Regions from separate parts of the Homo sapiens genome. Here region 1 is linked to region 2. The links are contacts of gene promoters, found by promoter capture Hi-C in human tissues and cell types (Jung and others, 2019). All regions are on one chromosome and are shown on one strand. The core of a region is centred on a gene start or on the middle of the fragment in contact, and the rest is flanking DNA. Distances in the headings are between cores, read along the strand shown.

Region 1 (3,894 bases), core at 187-2,686, 230 kb before region 2:
TTTTGTATTTTTAGTAAAGACGGGGTTTCACCATGTTGGCCAGGCTGGTCTCAAACTCCTGACCTCAGGTGATCCACCTGCCTCGGCCTCCCAAAGTGCTGGGATTACAGGTGCGTGAGCCACTGCACCTGGCAGAGCTACCACGCCCGGCTACATGTCATTTTCAAAAAAGGCCGGGTGTGGTGGCTCACGCCTGTAACCCCAGCACTTTGGGAAGCCGAGGCGGGTTGGATTATGAGGTCAGGAGATCGAGACCATCCTGGCCAACACAGGGAAACCCTGTCTTTACTAAAAATACAAAAAAATTAGCTGGGCATGGTCGTGGGTGCCTGTAGTTCCAGCTACTCGGGAGGCTGAGGCAGGAGAATCACCTGAACCCGGGAGGCGGAGGTTGCAGAGAGCCGAGATCACGCCACTGCACTCCAGCCTGGGGACAGAGTGAGACTCCATTTCAAAAAAAAAAAGGGAAAAAAAAATAGAAAGTCTCACCCCTCAGAAATAACTACTGTTATAAAGTACTTTTAAATATATAAGCTTAAATGTGTGCTACTTAATTTTCCTGCTTAAAATTTCCCCTTAAAAGAATTATGTTTTAACAAATAGCATTAGAACATCCAGTTTAATGTAATTAAGCCACTACTTTTGTGTTCCACATTGCAAAGTAGCTTCCAGTCTTAAGTGATGAAATATGCTTTCTACTAAGACAGCCACGTGCTCTAGAAATGAAGGCTAAGATCCAGTCTGTTAAATTACCATGGAATTCCCTTGCTTTGTATGTGGCTGTTTACTTAGCAGTATATGCCCTTTATTCTGTGCTGATAGGCCATTCTTTGGTAATAGAGCAGCTTAAGTCTGAAGAGCTAAAGCTAAGGATCTAGAAGAAAGGAATAATCATTTATGGAAGCCAAAGATACCTTTTTTTTTTTAGGATAAATTTCTCTCCTTTTTGTTTTTGTTTTTGTTTTTTTGAGACAGAGTCTTGCTCTGTCACCCAGGCTGCAGTGACACGGCAAGCTTCCCAGTACCTGGGACTATAGGTGCGCACCACCATGCCTGGCTAATTTTTGTATTTTTTGTAGAGATGAGGTTTCGCCATGTTGGTCTTGAACACTTTTTTTTTGAGACAGAATCTCACTCTGTCATCTGGGCTGGAGTGCAGTGGCGCAATCTTGGCTCACTGCAACCTCCGCCTCCCAGGTTCAAGCGATTCTCCTGCCTCAGCCTCCTGAGTAGCTGGGACTACAGGCATATGCCACTGCGCCCAGCTGATTTTGGTATTTTTAGTAGAGACGAGGTTTCTCCATGTTGGTTGGCCAGGATGGTCTTGATCTCTTGACCTCGTGATCCATCCGCCTCGGCCTCCCAAAGTGCTGGGATTACAGGCGTGAGCCACCGCGCCCAGCCAGGTCTTGAACTCTTGAGCTCAAGTGATCCTCCTGCCTTGGCGTTCCAAAGTTTGGGATTACAGGCGTGAGCCACCATGCCTGGCCAGAAACTTCTTTTTTGTTTCCTGTGTTTTGTTCCCACTCTACCTGGCCGTTGACATAATTAACATGAAATTTGCAGGAATAGATCTCCTGGATTGTCTTCTCTATGTATGCTTTTCTTCCTGCTGTCCTTGTATTGTGTGTCCTAATTTTATTCTCCACCCACACCCCTTCCCCATCAAATTTGTTTTATAGAATAAATGTGTTTTTATATATCTTTGTCCCTCTTGTATAATCTTTTGATAATTGTCTACTTTCATTTTTGTGACATGTTCCTCTATGCGGAATGATACTAGTGAGTTTTTGCCAATAAATCCAATGTATGTAACTTGGAGCATTAGCTAGATTAACTTTTTGGTATGGTAAGACATCCTATAGCAGCAACAGATTTTAGCCCACAGTGTGATTAGGCTATTTGAATGGATGAAATTTGCTGTATTTGGATTTAATCTTCTAATCCAGTTTTTGTCTTTGGGGATGGTTGGAACATAGTCATCATAATGAGAACTATCAATTGTCTTTCATAGATAGTGTCTCTATCTTCCCAGTTTCTGTAAGTTCTCTTCCTGAGTGTTATTTGCTGCCTATTCTTACTACTTTTCTTATTTTAGATCACAGATTCTGCTGGCCATATTCTCTACTCCAAAGAGGATGCAACCAAGGGGAAATTTGCCTTTACCACTGAAGATTATGACATGTTTGAAGTGTGTTTTGAGAGCAAGGGTGAGTAATCAAGAGTGTTTCTCTGGATTAAGAATCTTCTCCAACTCTAATGCTCCTTAATACAGTCAGCACTTAATATCTAGTTTCATTTGTATTCTTTATTTATTCTGATTTGGAGACCTGTTACCTTGTAGTCTTTGGAGCACCTTTTAAAAGGTCGACTACATGGAATAAAAGATTGAATAGGTGGAACAGAGAGAATTTTTAGGGCAGTAAAAATATTCTGTATGATACTGTAATAGTGGATACATGTCATTATATGGTTGTCCGAACATTACATTTGGAATGTACACCAAGAGTGAATCCTAATGTAAACTGTGGACTTTGGTAGATAGTGATGTGTCCATGTAGGTTCATCATTTGTAATGAATGTACCACTCTGGTGGGAAATGGTGATAATGGGGGAGGCTATGCATATGTAAGAGGAAGGGGGATATGGGAAATCTTTGTGCCTTCCTCTCAGTTTTGTTGTGAACCTAAAACTGCTCTAACAAAGTGAAGTCTTAAAAAAAAGGCTGGGCATGGTGGCTCATGCCTGTAATCCCAGCACTTTGGGAGGCCAAGGCAGGCAGATCACTGAAGGTTAGGAGTTTGAGACCAGCCTGGCCAACATGGTGAAACCCTGTCTCTACTAAAAATACAAAATTAGCTGGGCATGGTGGCTCGTGCCTGTAACCCTAGCTGCTCAGGAGGCTGAGGCAGGAGAATCACTTAAACCCAGGAGGTGGAGGTTGCAGTGAGCAAGATTGTGTCACTGCACTCCAGCCTGGGTGACAGAGTGAGACTCCATCTCAAAAAAATAAACAACAACAACAACAAAAAAAACTGGCCGGGCGCAGTGACTCACGCTTGTAATCCCAGCAGTTGGGAGGCCGAGGCGGGCGGATCACCTGAGGCCAGGAGTTTGAGACCAGCCTGGCCAACATGGCGAAACCCCATCTCTACTAAAAATACAAAAATTAGCCAGATGTGGTGGTGGCACATGCCTGTAATCCCAGCTACTCGGGAGGCTGAGGCAGGAGAATTGTTTGAACCCAGGAGGCAGAGATTGCAGTGAGCCAAGATCGTACCACTGCACTGCAGCCTGGGTGACAGAGCGAGACTCTGTCTCAAAACAAACAAAAAGGATTGTCTGTTTGCCAGGCAAATGCAGAGAGAAAAATTATGAAGGGTCCTTTTACAAAGGAGACTCTTTAGGGCTATGATGTCAGCTAAGAGGATAGGCTGACAGTTCTATGCAAGAGACTGTATAGTCTGGACTCGACCATTCTGAGAAATGGTGGTTAGGTGATTTCGTTGTGCAAATATTAAGTGTACTTACACAAACCTAGATGTTATAGCCTACTACCCACCTCGGCTATATGGTATAGCCTACTACTGCTCCTAGGCTACAAAGCTGTAAAGCATGTGACTGTACTGAATACTGTAGGCAGTTAGAACACAATGCTATTTGTGTATCTAAACATAGAAAAGATATAGTAAAAATACAGTATTATAATAATCTTATGGGACCACCTTCATATATGCAGTCTGTCCTCGACTGAACTGTCTTCATGTAGTGCATGACTGTACTGTGCTGTGACAATCAGGGAGGTAGTTGGAAGACCTTGTAAGAAAGAAGATATCCTGATCATTTGGACCAGGTGGGGCTGTGAACTGCTTAAGTTTCACAACTTTTTCAATG
Region 2 (3,877 bases), core at 103-2,602:
GAGACCAGCCTGGGCAATATGGTGAAACCCCATCTCTACTAAAAAAAAAAAAAAAAAAAAAAAAAAAAAGGAAATTAGCCGTACTGCAAACCTAGGGTGGTAGGTAAAGAAGTGAGGCCTAGAGTGTATTTTGGTTTGTTTTCTTGTTTTGCTTTTAAGAGGGGAGAAACAAGCATTATGTTTGTATCAGGTGGGAATTATCTAGTGGGAGAGACGGGAGAATCGCTGGAGTGGTGTCGCTGAGTAGGTGATGGCACGGGACTGATGCCCACCTGGAAGGGTGGCCTTCGATGGGGCACAGACAGTCACCTGTGGAAAAAGGTTGGAAGCAGAGTGTGGGCACAGCCCCGCCCGCGGGCCAAGAGCAAGCCTGTGGGAGTCTGTGCGCCACTGCTGTCAAGGGAAGGATGAAGCAACAGTGCTGGCTGAGAGTGAGGATAGGGGGACGGGTGGGAGTCAGAGGGAGAAAGTATGAAAGGGTGTCTAAGGTAGAGCAAGTGCAGCCGGGGGACAGTGTGAAGCCAGTCAGCACTGAACCTGCAGGTGAGATCTGTGTCACAGGGTTGCCTGTGATCTGTTGCCCCATCACCCAGGCTGGAGTGCAGTGACACGATCTCGGCTCGCTGCAGCCTCAACCTCCCGAGCTCACTCCATCCTCCCACCTCAGCCTCCTGAGTAACTGGGACCACAGGCACACGCCACCATGCCCAGCTAAATTTTGTAATTTTTATAGAGATTGGGTCTACCTATGTTGCCCAGGCTGGTCTTGAACTCCTAGGTTCAAATGATCCTCCCGCCTCAGCCTTCCATAATGCAGAGATTACAGGCATGAGCCACCGCACCCGGCCTATGTCTTGAATTTTAAGCTCGGTTCTGATATCAAAAGCCTTCTATTGCTGGGTTCTTTACTCTCGGTAGCCCTCACTAGACTGTAAGCCCCATGCGGATGTAAACAGCGCTGTCTAGTTCACGGCTGTATCTCAACATCCAGCTCCTCATGCATGGGAGACTCTCAATACATAGCATTGAATCGTTGAATAAATGAATGAAGCAATGAATGAGAAAAGTCCTAGAAGTGGCACGTCTAGATTTCTGAAGCAGCCCCTTCCGCATCCCTGGATGATTCTAGACCTGCTCTCCCCACCCACCCCACATCCCATCCCACCCTCCCCTCTCTAAACCGCCCCCCGCCCCTCACAGCCCAGCCGTGCAGACCTTGCGGCTTTAAGGCCGGCAGGAGCCGAGCCGGGCGGTGATTGGTGGTTTATTCTAAGGCTCAAGTATGAGCTCATCCGCAGCCAATGGCCGCGCTGCACCGGCTGGCCCCGCACGCTGGATGCCGGAAAGCAGCGGCCCGCGGCGCGCTCTGGCGTGAAGGGCCGGTACGTGAGGGGGAGGCCTGGCCCGCGGACCCGGCTCCCAGCTCGGGCAGGTACGGTGTTTTGTCCGGTCCCTTCTCCACCCTCCCAGGCGAGGGGCCCCCTCGGCCGTCCCTCCACCCTGGGACCGTGCACCTTGCGGCTGGGGCCCCGTGGGTTGCACGCGCCGCTTTCTGTGTCCAGGCGGGGCCGGCGGCTCTGCCCGGCAGGACCCTGCCCGGCGGGGTGGACCCTGAAGCCAGTCCTACCCGGGCACCCCCCAGAGCAAGGCCTCAGAGCCTCAAGTTCCCCTGGGCTTGGCCGAGCAGGGATGGTGCGGCCTCCCTCTGCCTCCTGGCCGCATCCTGGCCGGGATTCAGCTCCCCGCCGGCTGAGGCTGTGGGTCTCCCTCCCCGCCCCACCGCCCATCCTGCTCTCTCCTCTTTCTCTCCAAATGACCTGGGGTTGGAAGTTCCGGGTCCTGCCCATTCCCAGTGGGACCTGGGAGAGCAAAGGCGGGGTAGCTTTGTGGGCCTCTCTCTGAGCCCCTTCCCTTCCCGCAGCCACGGCTGTCATCCCTTTGGCCGCCTGGGTCACACATTGCTCAGGAAGAAGCTGCTGTCAGGTCCTTGGAGGCCACATGACCTTCTCAAAAGTAAAGCCAGGAGGACAGAGCGACCCTCCCTGGGGCTGGGTCACCCTGCCCTCTTCTACCCCCCATCCAACGTGGCACCGAGTCTGCCACTCAGTCATTCCGTCTGCCAACAGTTCTTACAGCCCAGCTCTGTGCTCTGCTCTCTGCTGGCTCCAGGAGGGGTCCTCACTCGCTGACCACACTGACCTCAGGACCAAGGGAACAAAACACAGCAGGGGCAATCCATCCGGTCCACGGAGAAGTGCTAAACCCCAAAGGGTAAATGAGATTCCCACAGGAGGAGCAGGGAGGAGACAACAGGCAGGGTGGAGGGAACAGCATGAGGAACAGCATTTGAGCCCAGCGTGTGTGGCCTCCATGTGCTGAATGCGTACTGGATACCAAGCTTGCTCTACGGAGGCCCTGTGAAGGTGGCTGTGGATCACAGATATCCTCAGCTCTCTCCAGAGCTCAACACAGTACCAGATGCTCCAGAAATGTTTGCTGAACTGAATTTGACTGGAAAGGAAAACAGAGCCCCAGGCCTGCGCGGTGGCTCACGTCTATAATCCCAGCACTGTGGGAGGCCGAGGCAGACGGATCACTTGAGGTCAGGAGTTCAAGACCAGCCTGGCCAACATGGTAAAACCCCGTCTCTACTACAAATACAAAACATAGCCAGGTGTGGTAGGCAAGTGCCTGTAATCCCAGCTACTTGGGATGCTGAGGCAGGAGAATTGCTTGAACCTGGGAAGTGGAGGTTGCAGTGAGCCGAGATCGCACCACTGCAATCCAGCCTGGGTGACATAGCGAGACTCTGACTCAAAAAAAAAAAAAAAAAAGAAAAGAAAACAGAATCCTGAGCTGGTTATGATTCTATCATTACCACCACTTAGGAAGGACCTGGATCCATGAAAAGACCTTACCCACTTTAGCTCTGACCCCTTCAGTCTTTGGAGGTGAATATGAGTCTCCCTGACATTCAGTGGAGGAAACTGGGGTGCGGATAGGGGTGTTGCTACCAGCTAGGTCCTCCCTAATGCATTTGCCCATTCCAGGTCCCAGCTGCAGGGCAGCCATGAGCCTGGTGGCCTGTGAGTGCCTGCCCAGCCCCGGCCTGGAGCCTGAGCCTTGCTCACGAGCACGGTCCCAAGCTCACGTGTACCTGGAGCAGATTCGCAACAGGGTGGCTCTGGGAGTGCCTGACATGACAAAACGTGACTATCTGGTGGATGCGGCCACGCAGATCCGGCTGGCCCTGGAGCGCGATGTTAGTGAGGACTATGAGGCGGCCTTCAACCACTATCAGAATGGCGTGGACGTGCTGCTCCGTGGCATACACGGTGAGGACCGGGGCTGGGCAGGGCTGGGGTGGGTGGGGAAGGGCCAGTGCAGGGCTCTTCCTGTCACCCATCTGTCTTGTCCCCTGTCCATTTGTACTGAGTGAGCACGGCACTATGCTGGCCTGCAGGGCCTCCATAAAAGACAATGATAGCTGGCACTTATTAAGCAGTTTCTACATGCCAGGTACTATTCTAAGGGCTTCATGTAGATTCATTCATTTGAGTGTCACAGTAATAGAAATTACTATATATGTTGTTGTATGTTGTTCCAAGCACACAGGAACCATTTTTTACATTCTCATGTTCCAGATGAGGAAGCTGAGGCATGGGGCAGTTCAGTAGCTTGCTCAAGGCTCCACAGCTATCAAATGGCACAATTGGGGTTTCACTTCACAGGCTGTGTACTTGGCCCACTACACCTGACTGTTCCTGGAGCTGGGCTGGGCTCCTGCCCTCTGGGAGTTTGCATTCTAGTGGGGGGAGACTGATGAGTTGATTTGGACCATTATAGTCTCAGGTAGGAAGAGGATTAGTGGGGAAGT

The links. Contacts are between HindIII fragments. The study calls those that stand out against the background at their distance.
Region 1: a contact is called between a fragment that was not itself captured here and the fragment with the promoter of RPS6KL1 in region 2, in 1 of the 25 tissues and cell types used here (bladder).

Annotation. Positions count from the first base shown.
Region 1 is chr14:75,150,348-75,154,241 of GRCh38, reverse strand. It overlaps TMED10 (transmembrane p24 trafficking protein 10), which reads left to right. Exons shown (of 5, transcript NM_006827.6): 2 at 2,099-2,210. Among named protein-coding and RNA genes, the nearest start is that of TMED10, 24 kb to the left of the region's middle. RefSeq lists an enhancer at 1,214-1,878. The HindIII fragment of the contact is 4,149 bases long and covers 1-3,510 here.
Region 2 is chr14:74,920,735-74,924,611 of GRCh38, reverse strand. It overlaps RPS6KL1 (ribosomal protein S6 kinase like 1), which reads left to right and starts at 1,352. Exons shown (of 12, transcript NM_031464.5): 1 at 1,352-1,432; 2 at 2,127-2,634; 3 at 3,051-3,335. The coding sequence starts at 3,071. RefSeq lists silencers at 1,127-1,186, 1,277-1,686 and enhancers at 1,057-1,827, 1,828-2,599. The HindIII fragment of the contact is 16,501 bases long and covers 1-3,877 here.